Regions from separate parts of the Homo sapiens genome. Here all the other regions are linked to region 5. The links are contacts of gene promoters, found by promoter capture Hi-C in human tissues and cell types (Jung and others, 2019). All regions are on one chromosome and are shown on one strand. Each heading gives the region's core, a stretch centred on a gene start or on the middle of the fragment in contact. The rest is flanking DNA. Distances are from core to core; before and after follow the strand shown. Region 1 holds the start of KCTD13 (potassium channel tetramerization domain containing 13). Region 2 holds the start of C16orf54 (chromosome 16 open reading frame 54). Region 3 holds the start of SPN (sialophorin). Region 4 overlaps MVP (major vault protein). Region 5 holds the start of SPNS1 (SPNS lysolipid transporter 1, lysophospholipid).

The links. Contacts are between HindIII fragments. The study calls those that stand out against the background at their distance.
Region 1: the fragment with the promoter of KCTD13 here is called in contact with the fragment with the promoter of SPNS1 in region 5 in 2 of the 25 tissues and cell types used here (hippocampus and lymphoblastoid cells).
Region 2: a contact is called between the fragment with the promoter of C16orf54 here and the fragment with the promoter of SPNS1 in region 5, in 4 of the 25 tissues and cell types used here (dorsolateral prefrontal cortex, mesenchymal stem cells, pancreas and 1 more).
Region 3: the fragment with the promoter of SPN here is called in contact with the fragment with the promoter of SPNS1 in region 5 in 4 of the 25 tissues and cell types used here (H1 embryonic stem cells, IMR-90 fibroblasts, aorta and 1 more).
Region 4: a contact is called between a fragment that was not itself captured here and the fragment with the promoter of SPNS1 in region 5, in 1 of the 25 tissues and cell types used here (dorsolateral prefrontal cortex).

The regions. Positions count from the first base shown.
Region 1 is chr16:29,924,868-29,927,567 of GRCh38, reverse strand. It overlaps KCTD13 (potassium channel tetramerization domain containing 13), which reads left to right and starts at 1,342. Exons shown (of 6, transcript NM_178863.5): 1 at 1,342-1,778. The coding sequence starts at 1,535. It overlaps KCTD13-DT (KCTD13 divergent transcript), which reads right to left and starts at 1,345. Exons shown (of 3, transcript XR_001752362.2): 1 at 1-1,345. RefSeq lists a silencer at 1,437-1,676. The HindIII fragment of the contact is 18,228 bases long and covers 1-2,700 here.
Region 2 is chr16:29,744,620-29,747,319 of GRCh38, reverse strand. It overlaps C16orf54 (chromosome 16 open reading frame 54), which reads left to right and starts at 1,330. Exons shown (of 2, transcript NM_175900.4): 1 at 1,330-1,409; 2 at 2,369-2,700. The coding sequence starts at 2,369. LOC124903673 (a long non-coding RNA gene) reads right to left here and starts at 2,073. Exons shown (of 2, transcript XR_007065046.1): 1 at 1,935-2,073. RefSeq lists enhancers at 394-463, 991-1,040. The HindIII fragment of the contact is 21,250 bases long and covers 1-2,700 here.
Region 3 is chr16:29,661,887-29,664,589 of GRCh38, reverse strand. SPN (sialophorin) reads right to left here and starts at 1,343. Exons shown (of 2, transcript NM_003123.6): 1 at 1,274-1,343; 2 at 1-895. The coding sequence starts at 861. RefSeq lists silencers at 239-358, 1,619-1,678 and enhancers at 1,859-1,938, 2,579-2,628. The HindIII fragment of the contact is 34,536 bases long and covers 1-2,703 here.
Region 4 is chr16:29,831,545-29,834,244 of GRCh38, reverse strand. MVP (major vault protein) reads right to left here. Exons shown (of 15, transcript NM_005115.5): 4 at 389-512; 5 at 179-310. Among named protein-coding and RNA genes, the nearest start is that of MVP, 12 kb to the right of the region's middle. The HindIII fragment of the contact is 4,346 bases long and covers 1-2,700 here.
Region 5 is chr16:28,973,380-28,976,079 of GRCh38, reverse strand. It overlaps SPNS1 (SPNS lysolipid transporter 1, lysophospholipid), which reads right to left and starts at 1,302. Exons shown (of 12, transcript NM_032038.3): 1 at 688-1,302; 2 at 523-588. The coding sequence starts at 928. RefSeq lists a silencer at 946-1,035, a cis regulatory region at 1,072 and enhancers at 988-1,157, 1,256-1,365, 1,446-1,565. The HindIII fragment of the contact is 29,978 bases long and covers 1-2,700 here.

The sequences.
Region 1 (2,700 bases), core at 93-2,592, 950 kb before region 5:
GTCTGATGTTTTTTGTGAAATTATTTTGCTCAACAGGACACCACCATGGCCGTGCTGTTGGTGCCAGGTCAGCTCCTAGCAACATCAAGGCTTCTGGAGTGAGGGTGCAAACCAGCTCCCAGCTGGCAGCAGTTGCTTTTCTCTTTTACACCGCCACACTCGAAATCAGAAAATTGGCAACCCCTTTGGTAGAACATGAGCTCCCGGTCACTACAGGCCCATTTATACCCAGTAACAGGCCCAGGTCACACATTTACACTCCGACCTTCCTCCTGCGTGTGCATCCCTTACACCAACCACGCCCAGAGAAAAGTCACTCGTCTAGCATCTCCCAGGGACCTGCTGGCAGGGCTGAAGATAGAACTCTGACTCTGTGTTTTCCCTCCAGCAACCCCCCTTGCTAGACATTAAGACAGATTGTTAAATCCCTGATGTATCGGCTTCTAAACTGGATGCAGATCGGGTCAGATAAAAACACTTCTCAGTGCACCTTCTTGTCAACAGTGGGTTCCTATCTATTCTTCTTTCTTTTGGGATTGGGTGCTAGGTCCCACGACATTAGCTGGGATTCTAAGACCTTTGCTCAGCTGCTGCGGCCACCACTGACACGCCCTCTGCTCCTCAAATACGGAGAACAGTTCAGTGTTCCTGCCTGAGGATCTCTGCATTTGCCTTCCCTCTGCCTGGAACTCTTCCCTCACATCCGCTTCCCAGCTTCAGCTCGGCATCACCTCCTCAGAGAGGCCTTCCATCCTTGGTGCCCGGGCACCACTGCTACCCGTTTTGGCCTCTGTTTTTTTTTTTTTTTTCAAAGGACGTTATGTTGCCCAGGCTAGAGTGCAACGGTCCGATCACGGATTACTGCAGCTTCCAACTCCTGGCTTCAAGCGCTCCTTCTGCCTCGGCCTCCCGAGTAGCTAGGCTTACAGGCTGGGGTTACAGGTGTGAGCCACAGCGCCCGGCCGCTTTGGCCTCCTTTAAGAGCTTCCCTCCGCGCTTTGTTCGCAGTTCTGGTCACAGTCTGTTCAGTGCGCGGGGCTGGGAGGCGGGAAACTGCCCAATGCCCAGACCTCTCTGTCTGTTTCCCCTCAAGCTCGTGAAGCTCTCTGACAGCAGAGACCCAATCACGAGGTGGAGACTTCGCTTTCCACATCGGGCAGGGGGTCGGCCGCATCCTCGATCTGGTCCTGGTGACTCGAGACCAGAGAGGAGCGCACGTCGACCCGCCCGGGGAACCCGCAGGCCACACGCCAAACCTCTACGGGATCCCCCAGCGAGGCCACTGCGCATGCTCCATACTCGCAGCCCCGCCCCCATTCAGGGGCGGGGCCGCGCCTGCGCAGCTGCCCGGCGCCGGCTTCCGGGTGGTGCGAGCGAGATGGGGCGGAGGGCCGGTCTTGCAGAGTAGCTGCGGTGAGTGGGCGTGTGCGCCGAGCGGTCTGGCCCAAGGGCTGGGGGCCGGCCGAGGGTCTTCGGGAGCAGGCCGCAGGGCGCGGAGAGATCCTGGGATCGCCGTCCGCCGCTGCTACCCGGCATGTCGGCGGAGGCCTCGGGCCCGGCTGCCGCCGCGGCCCCGTCCCTGGAAGCCCCCAAGCCCTCGGGTCTCGAGCCTGGCCCCGCCGCCTACGGTCTCAAGCCGCTGACCCCGAACAGCAAATACGTGAAGCTGAACGTGGGCGGCTCGTTGCACTACACCACGCTGCGCACCCTCACGGGACAGGACACCATGCTCAAAGCCATGTTCAGCGGCCGCGTGGAGGTGCTGACCGATGCCGGAGGTACGAGCGGCGCCCCTACCGTGCCCCCACCCCAGACCCCCAACTCCCGTTCCCCGCAGTCTCTCACCACCGGGGCTCCTCATGCCCCTTCTCTCTGCCCGCTACTGTCCAGTCAACTCATTCTCAGCTCCCTCCAGCCCCCACATCCCATCTCCTCCCCTTTCTCATTCATAATTTCTCTTCTCCTCCCCCAATCCTTTACCCCCAGCAATAACCAACACTTACGGAACCCCTAACTGCCAGGCGCTGTGGTAAGTGATTGAACGTGTCAGTTCATAATCCTCATGACCACCTCTCCCACCCTTCACCCCTCAGCTCAAGACTTGGGAACTAGCCCTGCTGCCTGCAGTACTACTCCTGGCAGCCTTCCTCAGTTTCTTCCGACTGCCCAGCCTTTTGTTTCCCTCTCTGCTTCAGAACTGCTCACAGCCAGCCAGGAGAGCTGGGAGATCTTGTTTGCCTCTGTGTTCCCCTGACACAGGTCCCTGTACACTCTAGGAATCCACCTGTATACACACATTGCAGAAGGAGGCTGCTTTGGGTTTGCCAGGGACACCAGAGTGGAGGGTGGACAGGTCTCCTTGGCAGGTGAACCTTACCTTCTTGGAGTGTTGCATTCAAGTATGGACCCTTCGTGCCCAAGTGAGACTTTGAAGTTTTGGAGTTTGGGAGTGGGAGAGTCTTAAGGGAGGGGTTAACGAGGACTGTGAGAGCAGGAGAATAAAAATTTGAGAGGCGGAGATCTGCCTTCAAGTATCAAAGGTGAAGAATTCGGCCAGGTGCGGTGGCTCACGCCTTTAATCCCAGCACTTTGGGAGGCCGAGGCGGTGGATCACCTGAGGTCAGGAGTTCGAGACCAGCCTGACCAATATGGCGAAACCCCGTCTCTACTAAAAATACAAAAATTAGCCGGGCGTGGTGG
Region 2 (2,700 bases), core at 81-2,580, 770 kb before region 5:
CTCGCCCAGCCCAGGGATTTCTATCTATTCTTCCACCACCCTGGCCACTACATGCTCACCCACACATACATTGGTCATGCGACTTTGGTCATGAAATCTCTTTTCTTTAAGCCTTACTTTTGTCATCTGTGGATGAGTCAAACTAGAGAATCTCAGAAAGTCACCTGGACTCCAGAGCCTGATGACATCTTGTCACACTCTGCTCCAGGCTCCTCCCACCCTCAGCAGCAGGAAAGAGGGACAGACATGAGGATGGTCAGGGTTTTGGAAACAGGCCCACGCCTGTTTTTATACCCTGGACTCCTCTCAGAGGCTTGACATTTTTGTTACCCAAGCCTCACCTCACTGATATTTTCCAACCAAAATGGGGGCTAAATGGTCTGAAGAGAGAGAGACTTATGTTAATTAAAAGTATGAGGCAGGGGCCAGTGTGGTAGCTCACACCTGTAATCCCAGCACTTTGGGAGGCTGAGGCAGGAGGATCTCTTGAGGCCAGGAGCTTGAGACCAGCCTGGGCAACATAGCAAGAGCCCATCTCTACCAGAAAAAAAAAAAAAAGGTGTGAAGCAAGCTGGCCAAGCAGGGGGTGCCTGTGGGGGCTGCATGGCAGGAGCAGATCTGGGGAGGCACCGTGGATAAGACAAGGCAGGATGGGGTGGGGCATCCTCCCAGGAGGAACGGGGGAGGCACCATGGTTCTCTGGGAATGTACGGGCTAAAGTCCCAGTGTCCTATTTCTTTTTCTTTTCTTTTCTTTTCTTTTTTTTTAAGACGGAGTCTCACTCTGTTGCCCAGGCTGGAGTGTGGTGGCACGATCTCAGCTCACTGCAACCTCCGAGTCCCGGGTTCAAGCGATTCTCCCTGCCTCAGCCGCCTGAGCAGCTGAGATTACAAGTGCCCGTCACCATGCCCAGCTAATTTTTGTATTTTTCAGTAGAGATGGGGTTTCGCCATGTTGGCAGGCTGGTCTCGAACTCCTGACCTCAGGTGACTTGCCCACCTTGACCTCCCAAAATGCTGGGATTACAGGGGTGAGCCACTGTGCCTGGCCCCGGCGTCCTCTTTCTCAGCTTTTCGGTGAATGTTCTGGGGCTCAGGGCCTGGCTATGGGGTGACACTAAGTTCAACAGAACCATTGCCCATTCCAGCCCCACCTTACCCCAGGAAAAGCCTCCTCACCGCAGTGACCACATCCCCTTGGGTTGCTTTGGAAACAAACACTCCCCAGGGGCAGACGAGTTGGGGCACAGTTGCCCAGCAACAGGCGGTGCCCTCCCTTCCGCCTTCATCCGAGGCCGGGCCTCTACGTCTGAGAGGCGGACCGCCCTGCACCCTCCAAGCCTGCACCTCTTAGTCCAGCACCAGGAAGAGTGGCTCTAGGAGGGAGAGGAGCCCAGGGACTGACCCAAGGTGAGTTGAGGGGTGCAGGAGGCCCCCTGCAGATGGAGGATGTGGGGGACAGAGAGGTGTGCAGAGACAAACGAGAGATAGAGACAGGCCAGAGCCTGGGCAAAGCTGGGGAGCCCAGGAGGGGTGCAGAGGCGCCTCCGGAGGCCTGGCCCGGCCCGGCCCGGCAGCAGATTCCGTGGAGCCTATGAGAGCAAGATCAAGTCCGAGGAGAATGGTGAGGGGCGAAGGAGCCTCAAGGGGCCAGCGGAGGTGCTGGCGGCAGGCGGTGGGGGAGACACACGCAGGGGAGCCAGTGGGAGGGGAGGTTCTCATTTCTTCACCCACCACTTCCTCTCTAGGTCTGAGCAAGACTTGAGGGGGCCGAGTGGGGAGGAAAGAAGCCCTTGAGACCTTTCTTGTCTGAGGCACCCTGGGGTCTGGGAGGGAAATGGGGATTCTGGAAAGGCCTGGAGAGCCAGGCAGGAGGGCCTGGCTGTGCCCCGAGGTAGGCTGCCTGTCCTCCCACCCCACCTGGCTCACGCTTACCCTTTCTGGTCCCTCTTGCTTCTCTGTCTCTCCAGAATGTTCTTTTTCATTTTTGAGAAAGGGTCTTGCTCTATTGCCCAGGCTGGAGGACAGTGGTGCAATCTGGGGTCACTGCAGCTTCAAACTCCTGGGCTCAAGTAATCCTCCCACCTCAGCTTCCTGTGTAGCTGGGACTACAGGTGTGAGCCACCACACCCAGCTAGTTTTTAAATTATTTTTAGAGATGAGGTTTCACTGTGTGTCCAGGCTGGTCTTGAACTCCTGGGCTCAAGTGATCCTCCCGCCTCGACCTCTCAAAGTGCTGGGATTCCAGGCATGAGCCCCCATGCCCAGCCCTTCTCCCAGGCTTTCCTGGACACCTGCTGCCTCTCTCTCATCTTGGTTGTGCCCCCTCTGCCTCATTTACTTCCTCTTCTCACCCCTGTGTCTCTCAGATGCCGTTGACTCCAGAGCCGCCCTCTGGGCGCGTGGAGGGGCCCCCCGCATGGGAAGCAGCCCCATGGCCCTCACTGCCCTGTGGGCCCTGCATCCCCATCATGCTGGTCCTGGCCACCCTGGCTGCGCTCTTCATCCTCACCACCGCTGTGTTGGCTGAACGCCTGTTCCGCCGTGCTCTCCGCCCAGACCCCAGCCACCGTGCACCCACCCTGGTGTGGCGCCCAGGAGGAGAGCTGTGGATTGAGCCCATGGGCACCGCCCGAGAGCGCTCTGAGGACTGGTATGGCTCTGCGGTCCCCCTGCTGACAGATCGGGCCCCTGAGCCTCC
Region 3 (2,703 bases), core at 94-2,593, 690 kb before region 5:
GGCCCCAGTCCGCCGCTTCTGCCGCCGGCGCCACAGCAGGAGCAGAGCCACGAGGACTATGACCGCCAGCAGGGCCACAAGCACAGCCACTGGCAGCATGCCTCGTGAGTTCTCATCTGGGTTCCGGAAGGGCACAGTGCTTGCGTTGGTGGAGGTCGTTGGAGACATCATTGTAGATAGTTTTACGCTAGAGACCTGGGGTCCACTGGCCCCGCTGGAGGGCTCCAGAGAGCCAGTTGTCATGGTAACAGGGGGTCCAGTGGTCCCAGTGGAGGTCTCCAGAGAGTCAGTTGCCATGGTAACAGGGGGTCCAGAGGTGCCTTTGGAAGTCTCCAGAGAGACAGTTGCCATGGTAAGAGGGGGTCCAGAGGTGCCTCTGGAGGTCTCCAGAGAGCTAGCTGCCGTGGTAACAGGGGCTCCACTGGTCCTACTGGAGGTTTCTGGAGAGTTCGTTGTTATGGTTCCACCTGTCACGGTGTGGGATCCTAGAGAGTTTGCTGTTATGGGAACAGCAGGATGACTGGTTGCATGAGGGGTTTCCTGGGGCACTGATGACATCTTGATGGAAACTTCCTGGTAGGTTGTTGGCTCAGGTAAAGGGGAACCAGTGCTGGCACCAATGGAAGTCCAAAGAGGGGATCCCTCATTGATGGAAGTTGAGGGAGGTAGGGCTGAGGTCTGGTCCCCAGTGCTGTCGGCCTTAGGGTCACTTGTTATTGAAGTGGTGTACATCTTTGAGCTCAGGGGCTCGCTAGTAGAGACCAAAGGCTCTCCGGAGGTGGGTGTCTGCACTGCTGTTGTGCTCCCCAGAGCGTCTGGGCTTACCACCAGCACCCCAAGGAGAAGGAGAAGCGTGGCCATTTCCAGGCAAACAGGCAGGAGCAAGAGCTGGGACCTGCAGGTGGGCAGCCGGAGAAGCAGAACACGCGGGAGTTGCCGGAGGACCTGGCCGGGCCTCCCCTCTGCCCACTTCCCTGCCAACGGCCAGGCCCAACCTGCGGTTTAACGGTTTTTTCCATGCTGGCTTTTACTGTTATCAGAAATGACAGAGGAACAGATGCTGGCAGCTCCCCCATCAGCCCCATCCTGAGGCTCCCTCCAGCCTCAGCAGCTTAGATTCCAGCAGTGACCAGCCCCTCCTGGCCTTCCCTGACCCTGTGCAGCCCAATGGCTCCCAATCTCTTCCCATCATAACCTGTCAGAGTCTTTTCAAGCCACAGGCACATTCCCAGGCCCACTGAGGCCCCTACCCCACCAAGTCTCACCCTCTTACCGGCTCGGCTGATAAGGACGCAGCACTGGGGCCAGGTCACTCCACCACCTCCCGAGGCTGGGGCAAGACTGGGAAGGACAGGGCCCCAAGGGGAAAGGAAGTGGGCCCTGGCTCCACCCACCCCACCCACCCCTCCATCCTGCCCCACCCGCCTGCTCCCACAGCTGCTGGGCGAAGACAGCACCATCACCTGCTCCTTCAGGGGCCAGCGGGGTGCCTGGGGGTCTGGGGCTCACCTGAGGGAGGCAGGGAAGCGTGGGATCTGGAATCAGGATTCCTGGCTCTTGGCTGAGGAATGGGATGGAAGTGGTGATGCTAGGGAGGGCTGGGCTCAGAGGTGGGTGGTGGGAATGTGAGCCTGAGAACTCAAGGGTGCAGAGGAGGAGGTGGGAGGGGAGGGTGGTTTCCTTTGCATTTGTGGTCCCCAAGCTGTTAGGCCAGGAGCTGAGTGGCGCCATTTCCTGCCCTCAGAGCTCCCAGGAAGTAGCAGGGCAAGAGGAAGCCCCCGAGTCTGGCTGGGGGCCGTGAAAACCTTTGCAGGCTGGTGAGCTCTTGACTCTGTCCGGGGAGCTGGGGGTCACCACAGTGGCCCCCAGTCACAGAGACGTGGCTAAACCAAGGTGGTTCCTACACACTGCATATGCTAGGATCTTATTTCTGCAAACTAGTAAAGATGTGGGAATCTTTTTTTTTTTTTTTAAGGCGGAGTTTAGTGCAATGGCATGATCTTGGCTCGGCTCAGCACAATGTCTGCCTCCTAGGTTCAAGCAATTCTCCTGCCTCGGCCTCCTGAGTAGCTGGGATTACAGGCTTGCACCACTGTGCCCGGCTAATTTTGTATTTTTCGTAGAGACGAGGTTTCTCCATGTTGGTCAGGCTGGTCTCGAACTCCTGACCTCAGGTGGTCCATCCGCCTCAGCCTCCCCAAGCGCTAGGATTACAGGTGTGAGCCACCGCGCCTGGCCAGATATGGGAATCTATATGGAAAACCGTCTGGAAAGATATCTACTAAGGGATTCACCTAATTGTCTTTGGATAGGTGAGAGTAGGAGGTGGGGGTATTTTCTTCTTTGAATGGTTCCCATTTCCTGACTTTCCTCTAATTAGCAAGCTTTGACTCTCGGTTTGTGTATGTTTTTGGTTTTTGTTCTTGAAAAACGAAAATCAGTCCCGGGTGTGGTGATACATTATGCTGGCAGTCCAGGCCAAAGTGGGAGGACCTCCTGAGCCCAAGAGTTTGAAACCAGCCTGGGCAACGTAGCAAAACTCCTATCACTAAAAAAATAAATAATTTTTTAAAATCAAAACTGATTTGTATATTTTAAGAGCAACATGTGCACAATAGAAGATTCTAACAGGCCCGTGGGACTGTGCCATTTCTACAAGCTGATGAGTTTGTCTGACCCAAAGACATGAGACTCCTGGGTGAG
Region 4 (2,700 bases), core at 56-2,555, 860 kb before region 5:
AACAGCATGAAGCGGGGGTGGGGAAGGAAGAGCAGTGGGTGGCCCTCAACAGCTTTCAAAAGATACCAGGAAAGCGCCTCTCTGGGGCTACAGGAGGCTTTCCTCAACCTTCCCCTGCTTCCCCTGCAGTGGGGACCCCTCCTGCCCACCCACCATCATCGCCCCTTGGTGACCCCACCTGTCACCCTCTCCTTGCCGTCCCGGTCCCAGCACTCCTTGCGGGCCCTGAGCCGCAGAGCCTGGTTCTGCCTGATGATGGTGGCCTGAATGATCTCCACGACCTCCACTTCCTTCCGGGGGATGTACGTGCCTGGGGAGGGAAGGTGATGGTCAGAAGGTATCAGGGCTATGACAGGAAGGCAGGGAGCCCTATGGAGACAGAACTTACCAGGTCCCTCGAAAAGCCACTCATCTCCTGCCACCACCTTGTCTCCATCTTTATCCTCAAAATCAAGCAGCGCCTTTAGATGGAGGGCAGTGTTGGGCAGAACCACCTGCAGGGGTGTGATGTCCTAGTGGGGAAGAAGGTGGAGACACAGAACCATCAGTGCTGTGACCCCAGGGCCAAGCCTGATGCTCTGGAGGCGGGTCCACAACATCCATCTCTGTATGTCCTGAAATAAGACTGGGGTGGAGGCCGGGCACAGTGGCTCACACCTGTCATCCCAGAACTTTGGGAGACTGAGGTAGGAGGATTGCTTGACCTCAGACATTCAAGAACCAGCCTGGGCAACATAGCAAGATCCCATCTCTAAAAAAAAAAAAAAAAAAAAAAAGTGTAGCCAGGCATGGTGGCGGCGCACACCTGTAGTCCCAGCTACTCGGGAGGCTGAGGTGGGAGGATCACTTGAGCCCAGGAGGTTAAGGCTTCAGTGAGCTATGACTGCACCACTGCACTTCAGCCTGGGCAGCAGAGCAAGACCCTGTCTCAGGAGTTCAGATGAAGGAGAAGTTAGAGAAGGCCCTTTGAACTGAAACTGGGGCTCAAAGGAAGAGCTGGCTTTTTTTTATTTTTGGAGATGGGGTCTTCCTATGTCATCCAGGCTGGACTGCAGTGGTACAACCATGGCTCACAACAGTCTCAATCTCCCAGGCTCATGTGATCCTTCTGTCTCAGCCTCCTGAGTGGCTGGGATTACAGGTGTGTCACCACCCCCAGCTAATTTTTTTTTTTTTTTTTGAGACAGAGTCTTGCTCTGTCACCCAGGCTGGAGCGCAGTGGCGCAATCTCAGCTCACTGCAATCTCCGCCTCCCAGGTTCAAGTAATTCTCATGCCTCAGCCTCCCAAGTAGCTGGGATTACAGGCGCATGCCACCACGCCTGGCTAATTGTTGTATGTTTAGTAGAGATGGGTTTTCGCCATGTTGGCCAGCCTGGTCTCAAACTCCTGACCTCAAGTGATCTGCCTACCTTGGCCTCCCAAAGTGCTGGGATTACAGGCGTGAGCCACTGTGCCCGGCTGAACATATTTAAAATGAAAGCTTAGGCAGGGCTTGGTGGCTCACACCTGCAATCCCAGCATTTTGGGAGAATGAGGTGGAAGGATCGTTTGAGCCCAGGAGGTTGAGGCTGCAGTGAGCTATGATCACCCCACTGCACTCTCGTCTAGGCAACAGGGGGAGATCCAGAAAAAAAAAAAAAAAAAAAGGCCAGGCGCGGTGGCTCACGCCTGTAATCCCAGCACTTTGGGAGGCCAAGGCAGGTGGATCATGACGTCAGGAGATCGAGACCACCCTGGCTAACACGGTGAAACCCCATCTCTACTAAAAACACAAAAAGTTAGCCGGGTGTGGTGGTGGGCGCCTGTAGTCCCAGCTACTCGGGAGGCTGAGGCAGGAGAATTGCGTGAACCTGGGAGGCAGAGCTTCCAGTTAGCCGAGATTATGCCACTGTACTCCAGCCTGGGCAACAGAGTGAGACTCCATCTCAAAAAAAAAAAAAAAAAAAAAAAGGTACAAGAATCCCTATATACTTTTCACTTGGATTCCTTAAGGGTTATTGTCTTAATCATTCTTCATTTTCTCTCTACACACACACTTCTTCCCCCAAACTGTCTGCACCTAAGTGGACATGAATGTCTCTAAAAGTTCCCCATGTTCTGCTATTATGCTTTCAGGATCAAGCAGCACTGGTTAGTAAAGTCAGTAAGAAAACCATTAAATGGGGCTGGACACGGTGGCTCATGCCTGTAATCCCAGCACTTTGGGAGGCCGAGGCGGGCGGATCATGAGGTCAGGAGATCAAGACCATCCTGGCTAACACGGTGAAACCCCGTCTCTATTAAAAACAAACAAACAAACAAACAAAAAACCCAAAACCATTAAATGGCCAGAAGGTAAAGGTGGAAGAACAGGTAAAGGAATGAAGGTGGGACACCCACCTGCTCAGGCCCAGGCCTGAGGCCAACGGGGACAAGAGCCTGGCTGTAGGTTCAGGCCTGTGATGGCTTCTCCTAGAACAGGCACAGCCTGGGGCCTGGGCTTGTCACTGCTGCTTTGGCACTGCCCACCAGTGTCTGGCACCGGGTGAATGAACTGCTTAACCTTGGCACATGTCATTTAATGCCAGACTGGCTGGGCACTTCTGGTAGGCTCTGGAGCCTGGGAAGGTGAGATGGGCCAACAGTTCTCAGAAAAGAGGCAGGTGTGTTTGGGGCATGTGTGGAGGATGGGGGTGGCTGGAGGTGAGTGGAGGTACAG
Region 5 (2,700 bases), core at 53-2,552:
GGCTGGTCTTGAACTCCTAACTTCAAGTGATCCACTCATCTTGGCCTCCCAAAGTGCTGGGACTACAGGCGTGAGTCACCACACCCAACCCTCCTGCCATTATTTACTGGGTGTCTACCATGTGCCAAACACTGCACTAGGCCCTTCACAGACAATCTTTTAGTTAATCTTCACATCAGTCCTAAGAGATGATTCGTGTTATTACTTGTTCCATCTTATAGACAAGGAAAATGAGGCTTAGAGAGGTTGAGTGCCTTGCCTACCATCACACAATAAGTGGAAGAGCTGAGATTTAAACCCAGGTCTGTCTTCACCTGGGTGAAGTTATACTTAGTTATACTAAACTGACTCCCTCTTTAAATGTGGTGTCCCGCTGACCCCCGAGCAACATCAGGGCCATCACCTCCCCTAACTGGCCACAAAACCTCCATTAATGAGCCCCTAGACAGGCCAGCGCGTGGCCCCACTTGAGACAGAACAGAAGGAGGAGCGGCTGTGTGACCAGGAGTGGTCCCCACTCACCGGTCTGGATGAGCCCAGAGCTACTGTCCCCGATGTTGAAGAACTGCTCGATGTCGGGAAGGACGCCTGAGGAGAAAATTCAGGATGGTCCGGCAAAGCAGCGCCACCCTCGGGACCCTGGCTCCCCTCTCCTAGACTATCTTCCTCCCAGAAGTGAGTCCCTACCAGCCACGGTGAAGCGGTCCATGTAGTTCAGGAGATTGATGTAGCACAGCACCGCCACTATGAGAGCCGAACGGCCGGGAGACAGGCCGGTGATGCGCTGCAGCCCCTCCTGGTCCGGGACCTCGGGCTCCTCGGACTTCGGGTTCCCCGTGGACCCTGGCAACCCCGGGGTGCCAGGCACTGGCCCGTCGTCCGGGTCATCCGCCTGGCTGAGGAAGGGCGCGGTGTCGGACCCGGCCATGGTCCCGGGGGGCCGCGCCCGCCCGCGCTCCGGTCCCACCGACGATCCCACCTGCGAGGGGAGGAGGCTGGAGAAAGGAGGATGGACCGAACACAGGCGAGGGAAGTGCGCCCGGAGACGGGGAGCTTGCCCTGAAGCACAGAGCACCACTGAGAAGGGACCCGGGCCCTGTCACGCCTCCCCGTCTCAGTAGACACACAGCGCGGAGGGGACGTGCGGAATACACGTGATGTCGGGGACAGGAGCGGGCTGAAGAGGGCACGATCCCACGCGGAGGCCACCCCTCACCCGGGGTAGGAGCCCGCTGCACTTGCTGTCGCTCAGCCCGGGCGCTGCACCACGGCAGCCGCCATGTTGCTTAAAGCCGGTCATGTGACGCGGGAGCCAGGGTGGAAGGGGTCCCCGCGGGCAAGCCTTCGACACGTGACCTGCCACCCGACTACGGAAGCCTCTTGGGCGTTCCGCCCGGGCTCACATGTCATGTGACGGCCGGCCGGTCGCCGGAGTAACCAGGAACTTTCCCAGACCCTGCGGTCCCTGGAGCGTCAAAAAGAGCGTCCCCGTGACTAGGTGGAGTCGCCTGCCCTTCCGAATCTCAGCTGTCTTATCTGGAACCCCCACGTGGCAGACTCCATCTTCATCAAACGGGATAATGGGGTCTCAAAAGGTTTTGGAAGTAGTAGATACCTCTAAAAGCCAAGGAGCAGCCCTAGTTCTCGGGAACCATCCTGTCTTCCTCCCAGGGTCTGGTTGGCGGCTTTTTACTCTCAATAAAGGATGGATGGATGGATGGATAAATGGATGGATGGAGCTTGAGCAGCGCGATGGATGGAGGATTGGAGGGACGGAGGGATGGACGGACGGACGGATGGAGCTTGAGCAACGCCCCGCCCTTTGTTGAGATTCCCCAACCCTGCTAGCCTTGTAAACTCCTGAGCCTTCACCGTGGACACTTAAATACCTATTAAAGGAAGCGTCTCCACCCGCCGCTCCTGGAGCATATTTTTCCTCACTCCAATCGGGATTGGAGCCCTTGCGCCCTCCGGTGGGCTTTTGTAGGGCAGGCAGGAGCTCCTAGCCTAAGGAGACTCCCAGCTGCAGGACTAGGGTCAAAGGGATAACTTGGGAGTGGTTCTTTAGTGGCACCCTATAATCTCCAAGCTACATCTAATAAAGCACTCTAAGTAAAATTAGTATAGTTCTGTGCAAATACAGCTTCAAGACCCATCTTTCAACCAGCCCTTAAAGGCCCTCTACTGAAATCCTGGAATCTCGTGGGGAGAGCATCCCCCAACCCCAAAACGCCTTGTTAGAAACTATTTCGAGTCCGAATACCCATAATTGGCTTTAACCCCCCCCCCCCCCCCATATTAGGTGCCTCGTGTTTCAGAACCTTAAGCTTGGTTTCCCCTGGCGGACAGGAACTTCAGGTTGCAGGCATTTAATTCCCTCAACAAGATATTATTGAACATGTATGTGCCTGGCATTTTACCAGGTTTCAGGGAAAGGCAGACTTACTCCCTTCCCTCGTGGAGCTTATCTAGAGAGTGATACGCATTGTAAATTGCACCTCTGAAGTGAAAAGGCAAGCCACAGGTTGAATGAAAATATTTACAAAGCATCTATCTGCCAAAGGACTTGTATCCATGTAAAGAACTCTTTTTTTTTTTCTTTCTTTCTTTTTTTGGAGACAGACGCTTGCTCTGTCACCCAGGCTGGAGCTGGAGTGTAGTGGCGGGATCTCGGCTCACTGCAACCTCCACTTCCGGGGT